Linked DNA regions of Homo sapiens: region 1 is linked to region 2. The links are contacts of gene promoters, found by promoter capture Hi-C in blood cells and fetal thymus (Javierre and others, 2016). All regions are on one chromosome and are shown on one strand. The core of a region is centred on a gene start or on the middle of the fragment in contact, and the rest is flanking DNA. Distances in the headings are between cores, read along the strand shown.

Region 1 (4,637 bases), core at 412-2,911, 3.2 Mb after region 2:
GGAAGCTCTCAAACTAATCATGGCTGATGATTTTCATGTTTTTCTGTTAACCTTCACTGTTGTCACTGCTCAAAACGTAGGTAGTAACAGAACTTAAAGGCCTAAGAAAACCTTGTGAAAATTCATATAATAACTTATTAATTGGCACCTGCCTATATCTTCTCAGTGGCTTCCCACTGACTTATGTATCTTTCCACTACCTACAGAATCCTATATGATCTGGCCATTGCCTATCTCCTTGTGGTACAACTTTCTCCCTAGTTCTCCCCATTTTATAGATTAAAAAACTGAAGCACAGGTTAAGTTACTTGTTCTTTCACATACTGCTAACAGGTGATGAGTCAGGATTTGAATCCATGAAGTCTGGATCCAGAGTCTGTCCTCTTATCAGTAAGACTATATTCTCTCAAAACTATTCATAAATATATTATAATTAGAAACATTTTACTTAAAAAGCAACATTAATATATATTCAGTGCCAGAGTACATAACACCAATAAGTGCAAACTATTAGTACTCATCTGTTTGACAACAAAGAGCAGCATATTAATGACAGTAGCAGAGATGTATTTCTTTGTAGGGAATACAAAATCCCTACAAAATAGGGATTTAGCAAATAAAGAGAAGTAGACATTCAATGGCCTTACCCACCAAGAAACAGCTGACTGTTTGTTTCGTTTTTAAACAGGGCTTTTCGAGGGTGGGGGTGGGGAAACTGTTGTTGAATATGTGTATGTAAAGCTCTCAAATTTGAGAGCTAAAAAGTTTCAAATTGGGCATAAAAATAAACTATGTTACAGAAATGTATGGAACAGTTGCAAGACATTTGACCAGTGAAAACCACATTTACTTACCAAGCTTCTCCAAACAGTAAAGGTGATGCTTTTAGGGGAAGCAAGGCTTAATTTGATGGTTAAAAAACATGGGCAATCATGTAAGAGAATCCTGAAGGGATATGACTATGAATACTATTTCTTCAGGAGGCACAAGTCTCTTTGCAACATAAAGGGTAAGTAAAGGAATACTGTTGATGGTATGTTATTCATAGTAAAGATAGATAGTAGTTAAGTACAAAAAGAATCCATACCACAAAAACCTGCATATTGGTTGACAATTTTTGAACATATTGCCTAATGAAATGCTAATAACTTAAATTTTTTTTTTAACTTAAAAAAATCATTCCGCAATATCGAAGTCACACTAGGTGACTTCACCTCTTTATCTTTTTCACAGCATTCTTATTTTATTTGGTCCTCAAGAAGTGTCAAATCAGGCAATTAACATAGTAAACTCGGGGAACAACTCTAGCCTTGTGTTCCAGTCCTTGCTCTGCTACTTACTAGAAGTGGCTGCTTGGGAAAGATAACATCCTTTGAACTGTAGTTTCTCATCTGTGCCATGTACATCACAGGTTTACTGAGGGTATCACATGTATACGTAAAAACATTTTGAAAACCATTATGTGCTAGTCAAACATAAAATATTGAAAGAAAAAGAAGGTATTTCCATTTTGTAATATAATAATTTGTTAATTTTTTTTTCAGTAGCTACTATGTACTAAGCACTAATGATACAACAAGAAAGACTCTTACCAGGCCAGGCGCAGTGGCTCACACCTGTAATCCCAGCACTTTGGGAGGCCGAGGCGGGTGGATCACTTGAAACCAGGAGTTCGAGGCCAGCCTGGTCAACATGGTGAAACCCCATTTCTACTAAAAATACCAAAATTAGCTGGGTGTGGTGGCAGGCACCTGTAATCCCACTACTATAGTGGCTGAGGCAGGAGAATCCCTTGAACCCAGGGGCAGAGGCTACAGTGAGCTGAGATCGTGCCACTACACTCCAGCCTGGGCAACAGAGACTCTGTCTCAAAAAAAAAAAGAAAAAAGAAAAAAGAAAAAAAAAAAAGACTCTTACCTAAGTAATTAAGTATAGAGTGGGAAACAAACTAGCAAGCAAATAATTACAATACAAAGTACTATGAAAGGGCACAGTGAAGCAATGAACAGGAAAGGTGGAACAGAAATACTAAATTATAATACTTCCTTAAGAACAAATGCTTAATAAGTACTAGCGTAGGAGCTAAACTCAAGTAATCCGACATCAAATCCAGAATGTCTTTAACCCACAGAACCTCAATATCACAACATGCTATAATACTCTTATGTGTTCTGATGTAAAAAGTATCAGCCACCTTTCAAAATATATCAACCAAACTCCAGGCTAATTTCAAATACCCTGCATAGTCAGTTATTTTGCATGACAAATGGTAGGTAGGACTTCTTTCTCAAAACAGTGCATGGTCAAACTGCTATAATGGATATAGAAGTTCACATTCCTTTCCAAAATATATTATGTGATGGGGACAACTCTCGTGATAATTCTAATTTGGATCTAACACGTATTAGGAATGCTCTCTGAATGCTAGTTCTTGGTATAGGAGTGCTACATAAGTAAAGCTTTTATTTCATCATTATAGTTGAAAAAGAAAGTTATCACCGAATCTCTACAAACATTACTGTGCATGAGACAACTACATCTTTTGGCACCAGATGAACTAAGAATAGGTAGCAAAGTTCTGTACAAGTCACCCCCAAACTATTGACAGAGATTGTTCCTTGAATAACAACTCAATTGAGGGGAAATAAAGACTTCTCTGCTATACTTTTTCTCGAAGAAACCATGTTTTTTGCTTAATAAAAATTTAAAAAGCCTAAGTTTTGAGGATAAAGAGACCTCAGCATGACTGTGTATTTAACCCGAAAATATATCCTTATCTTAGGTTTTAGTTATGCTTAACTAACATAGTTAACCTAACATATGCTTAACACAGTTCTATTCTCATTGTCGCCAAAATACGACAAACTGATAGTAACAGTAATAAACTCAAGTCTCATTTAGTTTTGGTTCAAGGGGTGACTCATTCAATTATCAGATGAAAAACTACTCGGACCCCGCTCTTTCCAACACGGTGCCCGTCCCACAGGTTTCTCAGGTAAGAGGCCAGTTTGGTTTCCACTGAGACGCAGGGGAAATTTTTGGTAGAGCTGTTGGGGCGGAAGAAAAGATGGAATTCTCAAGCCTGGAAAAAGCAAAGTGCTCAGCGTCCTGAGCCGGGGTTAAGAGTTACGGTGTCACAGCGTTCTCCTGAGACCGCCCCATCGTCATGGCATTCTCACTTTCGGCATATTGTAGAGGCTGTACAATCCACTCGGCCCACTTTCCTTCACGAGATTCCTCTGCTCGAACAACGATGCCTCTGGAACACAGGATGACCTACACGGAGCCGGCGAGGAGGCCCACGACAGCGCGGGTGGTGGCGGTGCTGTCCAGCCACTTCCCGCGCAGGGACGGGAAAGGGAGGTATTAGCCCGGGGCCTACCCGCTCTCGAACACCCATGTCACTGGACACAAACCAAAGTGAGTTCCTGGAGAAACCGAGCTTGGGATTAGTCACCTGAGGTATGTGTGTGATTCCCGCACTGGAGCCCAGAGCCGACTTCTTCAATCACAGAGACCAGACTTGCTTCCCCCTCACCGGCCGCCGATCCTCCTCAGCGTGCGCTTCGCTCACTCCACCGCGCATGCGGAACCTCCTCGCATGCGCAAGCGCTGAACGAATAGAGGCCCCTCTTCATCATTAACCATAGAGTCTGGGTCCTCCGAGAACAAGGACGAATGTAGATCATGGAAGGACCTGAAAAGTACTGTTTCTCGCTATCTTAGCTTTAGCTAAGTAACCTTCAAGGCGCGAGAAAGACATAGGACTCCGATTCCTTGCCTCTGAAGAATGAATCCTCTTTCAAAGTTTCAGCTAACCATGAGATGGCGCTGTGACCAAAGACGAAAGGTGGAGAAAGACAAGGCGTGCACGCTTCGCTCCTAGTCTTTGGCCTGGCGCGTGCCGCGTATTGCGCAGCCGCAGGGAAGCTGGATGGGGAGGGGTTGGGAGGCGAACCGGAATTGAGGGGTGGTTCCGCGGTGCGCGCGCCTCGACATCCGGGCAACGCCTCTGTTCTGTCCTCCCCCTTCGTCGCCTGTGACAACCGGAAGCGGAAGTGAAAATGGGTGTCCCTGCTGCCTCTTAGCAACAAGAGGGGTCAAGTGACACAACCAGCTGACTCCCGTAGAGGAAGACACTGTGGAGGCCAGTTCTGGAGCTATTGCAGCCTCGGTTGCCCGGCCGGGGACCCGAGCCGAAAAGTTATCGTCAGAATGTCGGGCAAAGACCGAATTGAAATCTTTCCCTCGCGAATGTAAGTAAAGGAATGGGATAAGCCGCTTTCACAGGTTTAGGAACCCGGAGCGCGGTCCCTTCAGACCCTGGGCCACAGTGAGGGTCCTTGTTTCCTGGGAGGATCCTGAGCTTTTCCCAGGTTCTTTTCTTGAGTCTAGGGCGAGGCTTCCTGACGGCCTCTTCGCGCATTCCTCCTGAGTGAATCAGGCTGGACGAAGCGATCCCAGCCGGTAGGAAAAGGCGCCCGGCCGGCGGGCTTTTGTGGAGGTCTGCTGTCTTTATTCATTAATGGATTCATCCATTCCACATACCCTTATTGAGCCGGGCACTGGATTTATATAACTGAACCGTCGCCACCTCTGCCCTACAGAGCTCACAGTTTACGTAGCCAGACATTCGT
Region 2 (4,823 bases), core at 743-3,242:
AATAAATTATTGACCAGGCTCTCTATCATCTGGCCCCTGCCTTCATTCCCAGTCTCTTTTCCCATCATTCATCCTTCACTCATACAACCCGGCTTACACTGGCCTTTCTGTGGTTCTCAGACCAACCCCTTTCCCACTGTAGGGTCCATGGTCCCCTCTGTCTGATATGCTTGTGCCCCAGCTCTTCACATGAGTGATTTGCTTTCATCTTCCAGGTCTCATCTCAGGTATCACTTCCTCAGAGAGGCCTGTCCTGACTGTCCTACCCAAAGTGGCTTCCTCCCTATCTTGTCTTCTCTTGTTTTTGTTACCACACTTTTTAATTTATATTTCTTTATTAACTGAAACAATTAATATAAAAGAAATAGAGATGGGATCTCGCTATCTTGACCAGGCTGGTCTCCAGCTCCTGGGCTCAAGCAATCCTCCCATCTTGGCCTCCCAAAGTGCTGGGATTACAGGCGTGAGCCACCTTGCCCTGTCTTCCTCAAGTTATCTTTCTAAAATGGAAGCTTGATCACATTTCTCCCATTGCCTACAAAATAAAGGTTGAGCTTCCAGGTCTTATTTACCATGCATACCATATGTTTTATTATCTACAGATCTGCATTCTGTCACTATTCTTCCTAATCTCCTTCTAGCCTAATCAAAACACAAGGAAACAAAAAACTAGAAAAACAAAACAAAAAGCTTTATGGATCACACTTTTTATTGGACACGATACTCTTCCTTTTTGCAATGTCCTCCCACTAGGCTCCCAACCAGGCCCTCCTGAAAAATTCTCTCTCAAAACTTTACTCTGTGCATGCACATACTTCTGTTGGGACACCTATTTTATACATACCATCTCAGGCAGAAAATTCCCAAACTGAAATGTACAGGCAACGTACTTTTATTCTACGGAGTTAACAAATTTTTAATTCCTTGTCTATGAGGTTGAAAATCCCAATTAAATTTCTGGTCTTCCCCTCTTGCTCCTGGGTTGTGGTTAAATTCTTGGGGAGTCTTCACAGTACCTAAGTTTTGGAGAAGATGTAGGCACCCGCCCTCATCCCTCCTTCAGATTTTGGCATCCTCTTCCTAGTATCTGTGTGTTGTTTGCATATTTCTGTATCGTTTTGCTTTTACAGAGCCACACTGAAGCTTGAGAATCTGAGGCTTTCTGTAGCTTCCCCGTACACAGAATCATTCCCTCTTTGGAGCCTTGCTACCTACTCCAGACTACTTGGAATGCAGACATTTGCTCATTACTCTGGGACCCAGGGGTATTCCCTTTCTCTTAATCTTATTAATATTTCACTTCAGAAGCATTTCCTGTGTTGTGAAATTTTTCTCAGAGGCTTCTTTAATTGGTTTAGATTTTTAATGGATTTAGTCACATAAAAGCCAATGACTCCCAAATTCTTAAGTCCTGTCCCATCCCAATACCTGAGGCAGGGAGAAAAATATAAATGACCATCGTTCCTAAATCTGATAGCTCAGTGGATACACCCGGGGAGCTTTTAAAATTAAGAGACACTCCCAAGCACAACTCTACAGCATCAGAATTTGTTTTCTTGACGATCACAGACGATCAAGGCAGAATTCTTCCATCAGTGGTGGGCGTGGGGCGGGACTCCACTCGGTCTTTCTGTCCTCTAAGTCTTCTAATTTTTTTCCCAGTAATCCGCCCTCCCGTTCTCCTTCTTTGGCCCATCCCTCTTCTAGTCTTTCCCTGCTCCCCTGCACCAATCTTTCTGCGTCCCGTCCCCTCCCATTCCCCTACCCCACCCCACCCCACCCCACCCCACGTTTCCCGCCTCCCGCGCCTCTCCCGCTTTCCGCCCCCTCGCGTCTCCTCCCCTCCCACCCGCACCTCCACCCCCTGCCTCTCTCCTGCCCGCCCCGCCCCCTCTTCCGCTCTACGTCCCTCCTCACCCATGCGCACTCTCTTCAACCCGCTGCTTCCGGCGGCCTAGGCTTACGTTTACTTTGCGCCGGAAAGAGAACCTGTAAACGCTCTCGGAATTATGGCGGCGGTGGATATCCGAGGTATACTGTATTGCTATATTTTGTCTCTTGATTGTCTGTGGACCAGTTTGGGATGTTATAGCTCGCGGTTTCAAGGTTTAGGTTCCTTTGTGTGAAGTCTCAAGCTTTTTTGAGTGGTTTTTGTGGACAACCCAAGGCTGTGATCTAGCGAAACGTTGACGAGTTTTTTTTTTTTTCTGAGTTCTTGGAGCGTCTCTTGGAAGCGTCGGAGAGAAGGGGTTGGAAGAAGCTCTGGGTTTTGAGCTTTCAGAGCTGGAGTTTTGTTCTACACACGTATCTCTGCAACAACATTAGGGCTATTCTATTGGAGTGAAGGAATGGCGTTTAGGCAGAGAAGGGAATGGGGTAATAAGCCAACTTGATTTGATTCATCTCTTGGGACTTGGCATGGTGGCTGCCTAATTCTTTAGACCGCGCCACACGGGTCCCTGAGCATGAATCCCAGATATTTTCTTTTTTTTTGAGTCGATAATACTTTACATCGAACGTCCAGCAATTATTATGGGCAGGGGTCGTATTTTTTTCACAGCTGAACTGCAGAAGTACTCAAATATTGAATCAGTCAGTGAATAAATGTATGGAGATGTCACCCCTTAACTGCTGCTTGATCTTGGGGAGCATGTAGAGTTGTTTTTGTGTATATAGTACTTGATTTTTAAAGGGAGATGTTTGAGATGCCTTTTTTTAATATTAACTGGATTGGGGTCTAACACATTTATTACAAATATTCTCATTTATACTTATCTGGCGATCTGCAGCACTTCTGGATCATGATTTTACATACGTGTCTTTCATTATTTATTTCATCACTTGCTGATGGTTAGAATGCTGTTAGAATGCTTGGGCTATGTCAACATGTTGCCTTGCTACAGAATAAAAAAGAGAAATATTTAGTTTATAAAATGTTTTACTTATAATTCAGATTGTTAGGATCATGGCAAAGACTCTAAAATAAGAGTGTGTTTGGTGTGTTAAAGGAACAGCAAGGAGGTCAGTGTGGCTGGAGGGTAGTGAGAGAGGATGTGGGAAGGAGATGAAGTCAGAAAGGTGTTGAAAGCTATGATAAGGTCTTTGGCTTTTCCTCTGAGTAAAACGCAGAGCCATTGGAGGGGTTTCCATCAGAGGAATGATGTGATCTGACTTTTTTTTAGGACTACATTGGCTGCTGGGAACAGTGTAGGAGGGCAAGGGTAGAATTAGGAAAACCAGTTAGGAGGCCATTTCTGAAAATGTTATTTCCTGGCCTGTTGTGTATTTGGTTATTGCATGATCCAGTTATGATGAACTATCTAAATGGTCTATACTAATTATTTGGTTATTAACGCACTTCATCTGTCTCCTCCTTTATTTTATAGCACACAAAGTACATTTTACCTTTATATAATTTTTCTCGGTTGAGTCACTTGGCTCAAAACTGCCTGTCACCTTGAATTAGGTCTGACTTCTTTGAAGATGCCTGAGGTAATGACAGTATAAGAGAGATTGAAGTTTTTCAACCAGTATTGTATAGGCATTTTGATGTTCATGATTTACACCTAGTGGTGTTCAGTACAGTCAGTGGTATGAAGCATCATGAAAGCCAATAGCCAATACAAGCTCATTTATTAAAAGTATCTAGCTCTATCATGTCTTTTTAAAAGCTATGATTTAATTCTACGCTAAATATGAAACCGTGTGGCTGTAGTTAAGGGAACTCTACTTCCTGTTTATCCCTTAGCTTTTACATCATTATCATCTCATCTACAATAATAGCTTCCTAACTTCTCTATCCCTAATTGAGAGATCTCAAACTGGTAGCTATAGATGTGTTCTCTTGGGCATACATGTTATTTGAAAATTTTGAATTCCTTGCCAGCATTAAGGATTTCCAATAAAAAAAAAAGTCCTTTCTAAATTTTAAATCTTATCACTTCTTCACCTAATGAAATTATTCTCTAAAGATATAATATACTTTATATTTTTACACCTCTGTATATACATTCTCTCTGCTTGGAATTACTTTGCCCTTTTCTCTGTGTAAGTTTTTATTTATTCTTTAACATACCGTGCTAAAACCCACCTTCTCTCCACATGAAAAATGATTTTCGTTTCCCCAGGTCCTCTGTAGTCTCGTAACACATTTCTTCATGTCTTTTTTTTTTGAGACGGAGTCTCGCTCTGTCGCCCAGGCTGGAGTGCAGTGGCGCGATCTCAGCTCACTGCAACCTCCGCCTCTTGGGTCCAAGTGATTCTCCTGCCACAGCCTCCCGAGTAGCTAGGATTACAGGTGTCCACCACCATGCCCGGCTAATTTTTTGTTTTGTTTTTTTTCTTTTTTTGAGACGGAGTTTCACTCTTGTTGCTCAGGCTGGAGTCCAATGGTGTGATCTCGTCTCACCACAATCTCCGAGACCTTCTGGGTGCAAGCGATTCTCCTGTCTCAGTCTCCCAAGTAGCTGGGATTATGGGCATGCACAAACACGCCAGGCTAATTTTGTATTTTTAGTAGAGACGGGGTTTCTCCATGTTGGTCAGGCTGGTCTCAAACTCCCAACCTCAGGTGATCCACCTACCTCAGCCCCCTAAAGTGCTGGCATTACAGGCTGAGCCACCGCACCCGGCCAGAATTTTTTGTATTTTTAGTAGAGACAGGGTTTCACCATGTCTTTATCATAAGACTTAATCATGTTATTGCTTTCTTGCATAATCTCTTCTGTTACATCATGAGAGTGTGTTGGTTAGGATCTATGTCATCCTTATATTCATAGTGCCTACTACATTTGATGTATAATAAATGTTTGTTGGATTGGATT

The links. The method cuts DNA at HindIII sites, captures the fragments that hold promoters and counts their contacts. A CHiCAGO score of 5 or more calls a contact.
Region 1: a fragment that was not itself captured here is called in contact with the fragment with the promoter of MED6 in region 2 in 1 of 17 cell types (fetal thymus); the score reaches 6.8 in fetal thymus.

What each region holds. Positions count from the first base shown.
Region 1 is chr14:67,359,277-67,363,913 of GRCh38, reverse strand. EIF2S1 (eukaryotic translation initiation factor 2 subunit alpha) reads right to left here and starts at 3,586. Exons shown (of 8, transcript NM_004094.5): 1 at 3,458-3,586. It overlaps ATP6V1D (ATPase H+ transporting V1 subunit D), which reads left to right and starts at 4,110. Exons shown (of 9, transcript NM_015994.4): 1 at 4,110-4,256. The coding sequence starts at 4,216. It also overlaps a transcript of GPHN not described here. RefSeq lists enhancers at 3,331-4,130, 4,151-4,370, 4,213-4,637. The HindIII fragment of the contact is 1,601 bases long and covers 861-2,461 here.
Region 2 is chr14:70,597,824-70,602,646 of GRCh38, reverse strand. MED6 (mediator complex subunit 6) reads left to right here and starts at 1,992. Exons shown (of 8, transcript NM_005466.4): 1 at 1,992-2,031. The coding sequence starts at 2,010. RefSeq lists an enhancer at 1,291-2,490. The HindIII fragment of the contact is 992 bases long and covers 1,146-2,137 here.